Regions from separate parts of the Homo sapiens genome. Here region 2 is linked to region 1. Evidence: promoter capture Hi-C in human tissues and cell types (Jung and others, 2019). All regions are on one chromosome and are shown on one strand. Each heading gives the region's core, a stretch centred on a gene start or on the middle of the fragment in contact. The rest is flanking DNA. Distances are from core to core; before and after follow the strand shown. Region 1 holds the start of RXFP2 (relaxin family peptide receptor 2). Region 2 has its middle 47 kb from the start of RXFP2.

Region 1 (5,160 bases), core at 928-3,427:
TCTTGATTTAAGAATTTTATATTTAACAATGGTTTCCAAGATGTACACAAAAATTACAGTAGAAGCTAAGAAAATGTCTGTGCCCTCCCCCCATCACATAGAACTAGGTAATTAGTACTTTCAGTAAATAAATTCCCTTCAATTAGCCAGAATTATATTGAATTGTGCTATATAGTAAATAATATATTCACATGAGGTTTTATAGTATTACTGCTAAAAGTATGGGTCCTACCAACAGGTGACTGGAATGAAGGGATGAGCTGATTCAGGCAAGGATCAATAAAAAACACTTGCGCAGATTCGAAGTTACTATCGAGTGAGAATCAGTTTGCACAAGTCTTTCATCTCAGCTCTGCATGAAGCACTCCTTGGAACCTCCTTACCAACTGTGGCTTTAAGAATAGACTACATTCATTCACTCTTATTTAAACACATACATTATATCCCTGTGTACATGTCAATCATTTCAGTTTCGGTGCAAAAGGCTGGATATTCACACCAGATAAGTCAAAGTTAAAACATATTAAATGAAATGGTATTTCAAAGCTTGCATGCTCTACCTTTAAAAACCAGTGAGCCAAAGATGTTCCTATTATTTATAATTATTGATTTCTGAAAGTTTGTGTTAATACATTTCAAAGATTAACATTGAAAAGCCTAACAGAAAGGAATAACGATTCAACTTTTTGGCAATGTAAATCTATTGCTAGGGCTCGATATCATGAATAAATCTTAACTAATTTCTTTGACATCTTGACATTTCTTATTTCTCCAAAAATTACATTTTCATAGAAAATATATTTATACTTCAAATAGACTTATGATGGTATTTAATTGCACTTAAAAACTCATGCTCAAAATTTCAGTACCAGAAACTAGCATCCATCATCTCGACAGCAAAACACAAAACGTAAGAAAAACTAATCATTCCTTTAAGTGAAATAAGGCAATTTTTACCTAAAAAGACCTTGAGGTTAGTGAGGGAAAAAAAGATGCTTGAAATGTAAGAAAAGATCCTGAAGTATTTCTTTTCATCTTTATTCTCTCTGTTGCTTTTTCTTTTGATTTGAAAGATCAGATGAGACCACATATAAATATGTCTGGGAGGTGTCTTAGAGAACTTAACTCACTTCTTAAAAAGAGAAAAGAACTAAATACATTATGTGATAAATAAAGTATTTTTTATTGTACATTCTGTTTGAATCCTTGTTCTCTCAAAGGCTAGAATGAAAGAAAGAACAAGGAAAACCCCGTGTTTTATGATTTGTGACGATAATAGTCACCACAAGGTAGTTTTTTTCAGTGTTGTTAGGACACAGTTAACGACAACATATAAGAGAATCTGCATCGTTCAGTCACAAAATCTTCTCTTCAAATCAGAACTACAAACTGTATTCTAGATAGATATTTCCCTGTTAGTAAAATATAAACTCAGACATGGAAATTCTACATCTTTTTGGAGAAGTCTTAATGATTACACTAGGATCAACAGAATCCTACAACCAAAAGTCAATTTTTATACTTTTAACTTGTACTAACTATGCTGTTGAGAAAGCTGCTTTCAGGATGTAAGAACTAAATTATAATTAGTGTTTTCTAATAGGTGTGCAATACAGAGCTGGAAGCAAGAATAAAATTATTCACTTCAAGAAAAAGGAATATGATTATGCGGGAAGTATGTGAAGTGAAAATATTGTATGAATGTTTTACAGTAATTATTTAACACAATGCCATATATTTAAATTATCTTTTCATATGTCATTTGAAAACATTTAGGTACATTTGAATAGAAGTGGGTGTTCTTTGTGTATCTGTCAATAAGTAGTTTTTTACATTTGTTTATTGCATGAAAATATAATTGTAAAGGGTTTCATAGCCTATTCAGTGTAAGCCTATATCCTTCATATTTGAGAACTTCGATGTTTGGATTTAAACAGAGCAAATTGTACATGCTTTGGAGGAAAAAAATTTTTAAGTGATTAAAAAATATTTCTTATCAGATAATACCAAAGTCCTATTATACCTTCTTTTACACACCATAATGAATTAGTGATCAAGAACACAACTGTAGATTTAAACTAAAAGAAACAAAAAAGAAAGAACAAAAAAGACAGGCTGCATAGTGACAAGAATCCATCTCCCTTCATGCCAGTGAGGTTCTAGCTGTGAGCATGCTCAGAACATGGGAGGCACTGAACTTACTACATCAGAACTCCTGCTGAGGTATAAGAGGATACGTCTAATAACTCAATTGCTGTAAACCTATGATTGTTTTTCTGGTTTTTAAACATCTCTTCAGCCTCAGATTGATTACAATGTTCTTTCTACTTCATTTCATCGTTCTGATCAATGTCAAAGGTAAGGTTGCTACTTTCTCGTTTTAAATGAGTGCAATTCCCAAAAAATACATTTCTATGTAGTTCTATGGCAGTTGTAATAAATATATTGGGGTGTTTAAAAAAAAAACAGACATCAAATTTGCCTGGTATTTGTCATTATCTTTCATTGCTTGTAGTCCCACACAGCCTAGTAATTTTTAGATGCAACAAATTTTTCATGGAAACAAGCCTTTGTATGTTATTAAAGCTGTAGATAAAATATGTCAAAAAACAATGTTGACTATATCAATTAAAACATAGAAAACATTTTTGGCATTTGTTCTGAAAAGTGTGACAAATTAATAAACTAAAATTGTGTTTTGTGGAATTTCAACCTGTTGAAATATGCCCATAAAATTCAAGTAATTATTAGTAACTATCTTGCGTGAACATAATTAAACTGGGAACTCCAAAGCCACAGGCAGATCTAAAAAACAGTATCTGTCTCTAAGAGTAAACCTCTCTAAAATAAAGTTATTAAAAGTCTATACAAGTGCATTTACTTAGATAATTTTCTTTTGTTTTTAATTTGTGGAAATTTTTATTTCAGTCAAACTCTTAAGTTTCAAGTCAGTACCATTTTCATTGTAAAGCTCACCAAAAAATAAAACCTAAATCTTCACTTGTTTTTAAATAAAAAGATACGTTGTCAGCCTATACATTCATAAACAACCTATTAACCACACCCAAGATTTGCTGGGGTTTATTATTATTCAAAAATGTTTCTATTTTAATTTGTATTTTTTCTTAAAGAATTTTGATAAACCTCTGAGAATAAAGGTTAAAATTTGAAATTATTTTTATTTTCTGAGAAATTCGTTTTAGGTTTTTTAAATATTCAGTTTTATTAGGTGAATTCCAAGTGAATATTTTAAATCTTGAAATAAAATGCAATACTTATGAGGAATTATTTTAAAACTTCTAACAAACAAAAGATTTTTAAAAGGCTTAAAATATCTAAATTTTATTTTGAATTTAAAATAATACTAAAACTTTACTACAAATATTTAAAATCTATATCTCCATGCACCTAGCATGACTTTTATTTTATATTTTAATATCTCTTACATGAAAAGCTAAGGATTAACTAAGAAGAAACAATATATGAACTCACCTTGCATGCAGTACAGTTGCAACAAGCAGTCTATTTCTATATTTAAGGTCCTACTTCAGAAGTTCATGTTCTATCCACATTTGAATATTCAATTTTATACAATTTTAAGAATATACAGCTACAAAGCAGGTTCTTAAGACATGTCATAGAGCTCATCTGTGCCCTTAAAAAGTTCTTTAATGTACGGGACTATAACCACAGTTTAACCAATTTTACTATACTTTTGCTTTTATACATAATGCATTTAATTGATTTTGCTTAAACCGTTTATGAGATGAAAAACATCTATTACTAAAATAACATTTTGTGATTTACCATAATGTAAAGTCACCCTTTAAACTAAAAAAAAGTTCAATTAATAATTTTTGTTTGATTTTATTTCTAAGTAAAAGCCATATTTCAAACTCCTAGTACCAACCTAACAAATATTTATTGATTATAATCCTGGAAATTTTTATTTTCTAATTTTATATTACTTTTGACTACTAATTTAAACCTTTATGTTTAAAATGATTTCTTTTCAAAGCAAGACACATTAATCAATGCTTTGACATTTTATTCCTACTTATAAAAATAATAGAATTTGCTCTATAATTAGTAAAACTCTTTTCTTTTTCACAACAAAATTGTGGACAATTAAAACGGTAAGGCTTTTCATAGTAACCAAAGAAAGCTCATTTAGAGTTGCCTAAGAGTAAAGGTTGTCTTTTTAATTTAAATAATATTTGTGATAGACTCTTAGGCCAGATCTAAACAAAACATAAAATTAGAAATTATGTGATCGTCTTTTCTTCTCTGACCATCATCACTCTGGAGTGCCTAAGGAATGAGTGATTGCCTTAAGCTACAGGCACTAACAGACAACTATGCATAATGTATCTTATTATTATTACGTGTGTTTTATCATTAATTTATTCACTGTGTATCTCTGTTAACCAGCTTCAAACTACTTTTTAAAAAACATTTCTTAATGGACAAATTAGGAACCATATTACATATCAAAAACATGGGCTTATGTAGGAAATTAAAAGCATGAAGTATTGAGACTGCTACTTGGTAACTACCAATTGTGTTTTGTGGAATTTCAACCTGTTGAAATATGTCCATAAAATTCATGTAATTGTTAGTAACTATCTTGCGTTAACGTAATTAGACTGGGAACTCCAAAGCCACAGGCAGATCTAAAAACAGTATCTGTCTCTAAGAGTAAACATCTCTAAAATAAAGTTATTAAACATAACTTTAAACTTTTAAAAAACATTTCTTAATGGACAAATTAGGAACCATATTACAAATCAAAAACATGGGCTTATGTAAGAAAGTAAAAGCATGAAGCATTGAGGCTGCTACTTGGCAACTACCAATTGCTACTTAAATAATTTGCTTAACCTCCAAAATAGGTTAACCAAAACCGGGCCCGAACAGTATTTTGAGGGGAGCAGTGTTTGACTGCCCCCTAGTGGCCAGACTCAAGGCATGCCTGGCATGGTCCTTTCTTACGGATGTCAGTTTCACTTGGCCACTCTGACTTGAGAAAAGGTTTTCCATCTGAATTTTAATTTCACAACTTTATATTCATGCTGTGGATAGTTGTGAAAATCAATTATGTTTCAGGCCAGTCATCCCGAAGACTGACCTGCTTGCGGGCTGAATGAAGCCCACTGTGAG
Region 2 (5,160 bases), core at 1,144-3,643, 47 kb before region 1:
TAACAGTGGATCTCTCTGCAGAAACCCTGCAAGCCAGAAGAGAGTGGGGGCCAATATTTCAACATTCTTTTTTTTTTTTGAGACCGAGTCTCGCTCCTTTGCCCAGGCCGGACTGCAGCGGCGCTATCTTGGCTCACTGCAAGCTCCCCTTCCCGGGTTCACGCCATTCTCCTGCCTCAACCTCCCAAGTAGCTGAGACTACAGACGCCCGCCATCATGCCTGGCTAATTTTTTGTATTTTTAGTAGAGATGGGGTTTCACCATGTTAGCCAGGATGGTCTTGATCTCCTGACCTCGTGATCTGCCCATCTCGGCCTCCCAAAGTGCTAGGATTACAGGTGTCAGCCACCGCACCCAGCCAATATTTCAACATTCTTAAAGAAAAGAATTTTCAACACAGAATTTCATATCCAGCCAGACTAAGCTTCGTAAGAGAGGGAGAAATAAAATCCTTTACAGACAAGCAAATGCTGAGAGATTTTGTCACCACTAGGCCTGTCTTACAAGAGGTCCTGAAGGAAGCACTAAATATGGAAAGGAAAACCAGTACCAGCCACTGCAAAAACACACCAAAATATAAAGACCAATGACACTGTGAAGAAACTGCATCAACTAATGTGCAAAATAAACAGCCAGTATCATTATGACAGGATCAAATTCACATATAACAATATTAATCTTAAATGTAAATGAGCAAAATGCCCCAATTAAAAGACACAGTCTGGCAAATTGGATAAAGAGTCAAAACCCATCAGTGTGCTGTATTCAGGAGACCATCTCATGTGCAAAGACCCACATAGGCTCAAAATAAAGGAATGGAGGAATATTTACGAAGCAAACGGAAAGCAAAAAAAAAAAAAAAGCTGGGGTTGCAATCTTAGTCTCTGATAAAACAGACTTCAAACCAACAAATATCGAAAAAGACAAAGAAGGGCATTACATAATGGTAAATGGATCAATGCAAATAAAAGAGCTAACTGTCCTAAATATATATGCACCCAATACAGGAGCACCCAGATTCATAAAACAAGTTCTTAGAGAGCTACAAAGAGACTTGGACTCCCTCACAATAAAAGTAGGAGACTTTAACACCCCACTGTCAATATTAGACAGATCAACAAGACAGAAAATTAACAAGAATATTCAGGACTTGAACTCAGCTCTGGACCAAGTGGACCTAATAGACATCTACAGAACACTCCACCCCAAATCAACAGAATATACATTCTTCTCAGCACCACATGGCACTTATTCTAAAATCGACCACATAATTGGAAGTAAAACACTCGTCAGCAAATGCAAAAGAATGGAAATCATGACAAACAGTCTCTCAGACGACAGAGCAATCAAATTAGAGCTCAGGATTAAGAAACTCACTCAAAACCACACAACAACATGGAAACTGAATAACCTGCTGCTGAATGACTACTGGGTAAATAACCAAATTAAGGCATAAAGAAGCTCTCTGAAACCAATGAGAACAAAGACACAATGTACCAGAATCTCTGAGACAAAGCTAAAGCAATGTTTAGAAGGAAATTTATAGCACTAAATGCCCACAGGAGAAAGCATGAAAGATCTAAAACCGCCACACTAAAATCACAATGAAAAGAACTAGAGAAGTAAAAGCAAACAAAGTCAAAAGCTAGCAGAAGACAAGAAATAACTAAGATCAGAGCAGAACCAAAGGAGACAGAGACAAGAAAAACCCTTTAAAAAATCAATGAATCCAGGAGCTGGTGTTTTGAAAAGATTAACAAAATAGATAGACCACTAGCCAGACTAATAAAGAAGAAAAGAGAGAATAATCAAATAGACACAATAAAAAATGATAAAGGTGATATCACCACTGATCCCACAGAAATATAAACTACCATCAGAGAATACTATAAACACCTCTATGCAAATAAAATGGAAAATCTAGAAGAAATGGATAAATCCCTGGACACATACACCTTCCAAAGACTAAACCAGGAAGAAGTCAAAACCCTGATTAGACAAATAACAAGTTCTGAAATTGAGGCAGTAATTAATAGCCTACCAACCAAAAAACGCCCAGGACCAGATGGATTCACAGCCAAATCCTACCAGAGGTACAAAGAGGAGCTGGTACCATTCATTCTGAAACTATTACAAACAATAGATAAAGAAGGAATCCTCCCTAACTCATTTTATGAGGCCAGTGTCATCCTGATACCAAAACCTGGCAGGACACAATAACAAAATATTTCAGGCCAATATCCCTGACGAACATCAATGCAAAAACCCTCAATAAAGTACTGGCAAACTGAATTCAGCAGCACATCAAAAAGCTTATCCACCACAATCAAGTCAGCTTCATCCCTGGGATGCAAGGCTTGTTCAACATATGCAAATCAATAAATATAATCTATCACATAAACAGAACCAATGACAAAAACCACATGATTATTTGAATAGATGCAGAAAAGGCCTTTGATAAAATTCAACACCGCTTCATGCTAAAAACTCTCAATAAGAAAACAAAAACGGGACCCCTTCCTCACACCTTATACAAAAATTAACTCAGTATGATTAAAGACTTAAACGTTAAACCTAAAACTATAAAAACCATAGAAGAAAACCTAGGCAATACCATTCAGGACATAGGCATGGGCAAAGACTTCATGACTAAAACACCAAAAGCAATAGCAACAAAAGCCAAAATTGACAAATGGGATCTAATTAAACTAAAGAGCTTCTGCACAGCAAAATAAACTATCATCAGAGTGAACAGGCAACCTACAGAATGGGAGAAAATTTTTTCCTAACTTCATTTTTCTGTTGCAGGATTCCATCCCAGATATCACATCACATTTATTTGTCATGTCTTTTTGGGCTCCTTTGGTTGTGAGTCGCCCCTACTTTCCTTCATTCTTCTTTATGGCTGAATAGTACCCCTTTGTGTATATAAACCACATTTTTTTATTATACTTTAAGTTCTGGGGTACATGTGCAGAACATGCAGCTTTGTTACATACGTATACATGTGCCATGGTGGTTTGCTGCACCCATCAACCTGTCACCTACATTAGGTATTTCTCCTAATGTTATCCCTCTCCTAGCCCTCCACCCCCTGACAGGCCCCAGTGTGTGATGTTCCCCAACCTGTGTCCCTGTGTTCTCATTGTTCAACTCCCATTTATGAGTGAGAACATGCAGTGTTTGGTTTTCTGATCTTGTGCTACTTTGCTGAGAATGATGGTTTCCAGCTTCATCCATGTCCCTGCAAAGGACATGAACTCATCCTTTTTTATGGCTGCATAGTATTCCATGGTGTATATGTTCCACACTTTCTTTATCCAGTGTGTCATTGATGGGCATTTGGGTTAGTTCTAAGACAGGTCTTTTGAAATTATCCAATCAGAGGAATGGTTTTTAAAAAGGAATAAAAAAGAGTAAAGAAGTCTTATAGGACTTATGAGACACCATTATGTGAAACTCCTGACCTCAAGTGATCCACCCACCTTGGCCTCCCAAAGTGCTGAGATTACAGGTGTGAACTACTGTGCCTGGCTGGCTGTAATATATTTTATGTAATTTTCATGGTAATCACCAAGAATAAAACCTGTAGTAGATAATAAAAATATTAAGAGAAAAGAATCAGAGCATACCACCACAACAGAATTCCATTAAAATTAAAGTATCCTGCTCTATGAAAGAAGTTGTTAAGAGAATAAGAAAATATACAATAGGAGTAATATTTACAAAACACATACCTGAGAAAGTATTTGTTTCCAAAGTAGACATAGAAACTTTTTTTTATTATTATACTTTAAATTCTGTGGTACACGTGCATGTGTTCTCATTGTTCAACTCCCACTTATGAATGAGAACATGTGGTGTTTGGTTTTCTGTTCTTGTGTTATTTTGCTGAGAATGATGGTTTCCAGCTTCATCCATGGCCCTGCAAAGGACATGAACTCATCCTTTTTTAGGCTGCATAGTATTCCATGGTGAATATGTGCCACATTTTCTTTATCCAGTCTATCATTGATGAGCATTTGGGTTGGTTCCAAGTCTTTGCTATTGTGAACAGTGCCACAATAAACATACATGTGCATATGCCTATATAGTAGAATGATTTATTCCATGGTGTATATGTGCCACATTTTCTTAATCCAGTCTATCATTGATGGACATTCGTATAAACCACATTTTTTAATCCATTCATCCATTGATGGACACTTAGGTTGATTCCATATTTTGCCTATTGTGAATAGTAGCTCTAACTCACTTTTTCCGTTATAAAAACCATGAGTTCTTTTTCACATGTAATACTTTACCAGCTTGGGGAAAGGGCATTGTGGTTAAAAAGACTCATCTTCCTTATGATCTGCTCCTGATTTGTCTTTGCTCTGTGCCCGAGGGATCATCACAGCCCCGGTTTTAAGCTCTCAGATACTCTGGGTAATATTACTGCCGCTGAATAGTTGTTGACTGGCTTTCTGTGGGGAAGAGTGGATTCCAATTACTTCTACTTTGTCATTTTACTGATGTCACTCTCCCTGACTACATTTTTAATCATTAAAAATGTGTGAAAGATTTCAATTGAGGGCCTTATACACAATACCTGATCGGTAATTCTCAAAACTGTCAAAATCATCAAAAATAAGAAACTTACCCAGTGACTTCACTCAACAGAAGGCTGTAGCCTGAGTCTCTGTTTGTGGAGCCCAGGCTGCAACCTTGCCTGAATGCACAGTTCAGCCACTGGCAGAAGCCAGCCATGGTGCACAGCCTGGAGCCCCACCTGACCAAGAGCATTTGTGGAACCCAGCCTACCTTTCCAACCAATTGTAGAGTCCAACCAATGGCACCACCCAGCCAAGGAGCACAGCGTGCAATGCACTCAGACAAGGATTGTCGATCCCTGTGAAGGACTCTTCCTGACTGCAAAGTCTAGTCAGAGGTTCCACCCAACTAGGGAGCCAAACAGTAGCCCTGCCTTAGCTTGAAGCCCAGCCAGAACCCATCTCACCTCAAAGCATGGGGAGGAGCCCCACCCACCTAAAGAATCTTACAGCAAGCTCCACCTGCCTACATATACTAAGAGCTGGCCTACCAAGAACCCCAGGATGGACTAACTGACGGAGGTCTATCCCTGCCAAAGTGAACCCATAAAGGCTAGAAGAGGTAGCT

Evidence for each region. The method cuts DNA at HindIII sites, captures the fragments that hold promoters and counts their contacts. A contact is called where the count stands out against the background at its distance.
Region 2: a fragment that was not itself captured here is called in contact with the fragment with the promoter of RXFP2 in region 1 in 1 of the 25 tissues and cell types used here (bladder).

The regions. Positions count from the first base shown.
Region 1 is chr13:31,737,349-31,742,508 of GRCh38, forward strand. RXFP2 (relaxin family peptide receptor 2) reads left to right here and starts at 2,178. Exons shown (of 18, transcript NM_130806.5): 1 at 2,178-2,358. The coding sequence starts at 2,265. The HindIII fragment of the contact is 13,582 bases long and covers 1-5,160 here.
Region 2 is chr13:31,690,136-31,695,295 of GRCh38, forward strand. No RefSeq gene overlaps it. Among named protein-coding and RNA genes, the nearest start is that of RXFP2, 47 kb to the right of the region's middle. The HindIII fragment of the contact is 7,438 bases long and covers 1-5,160 here.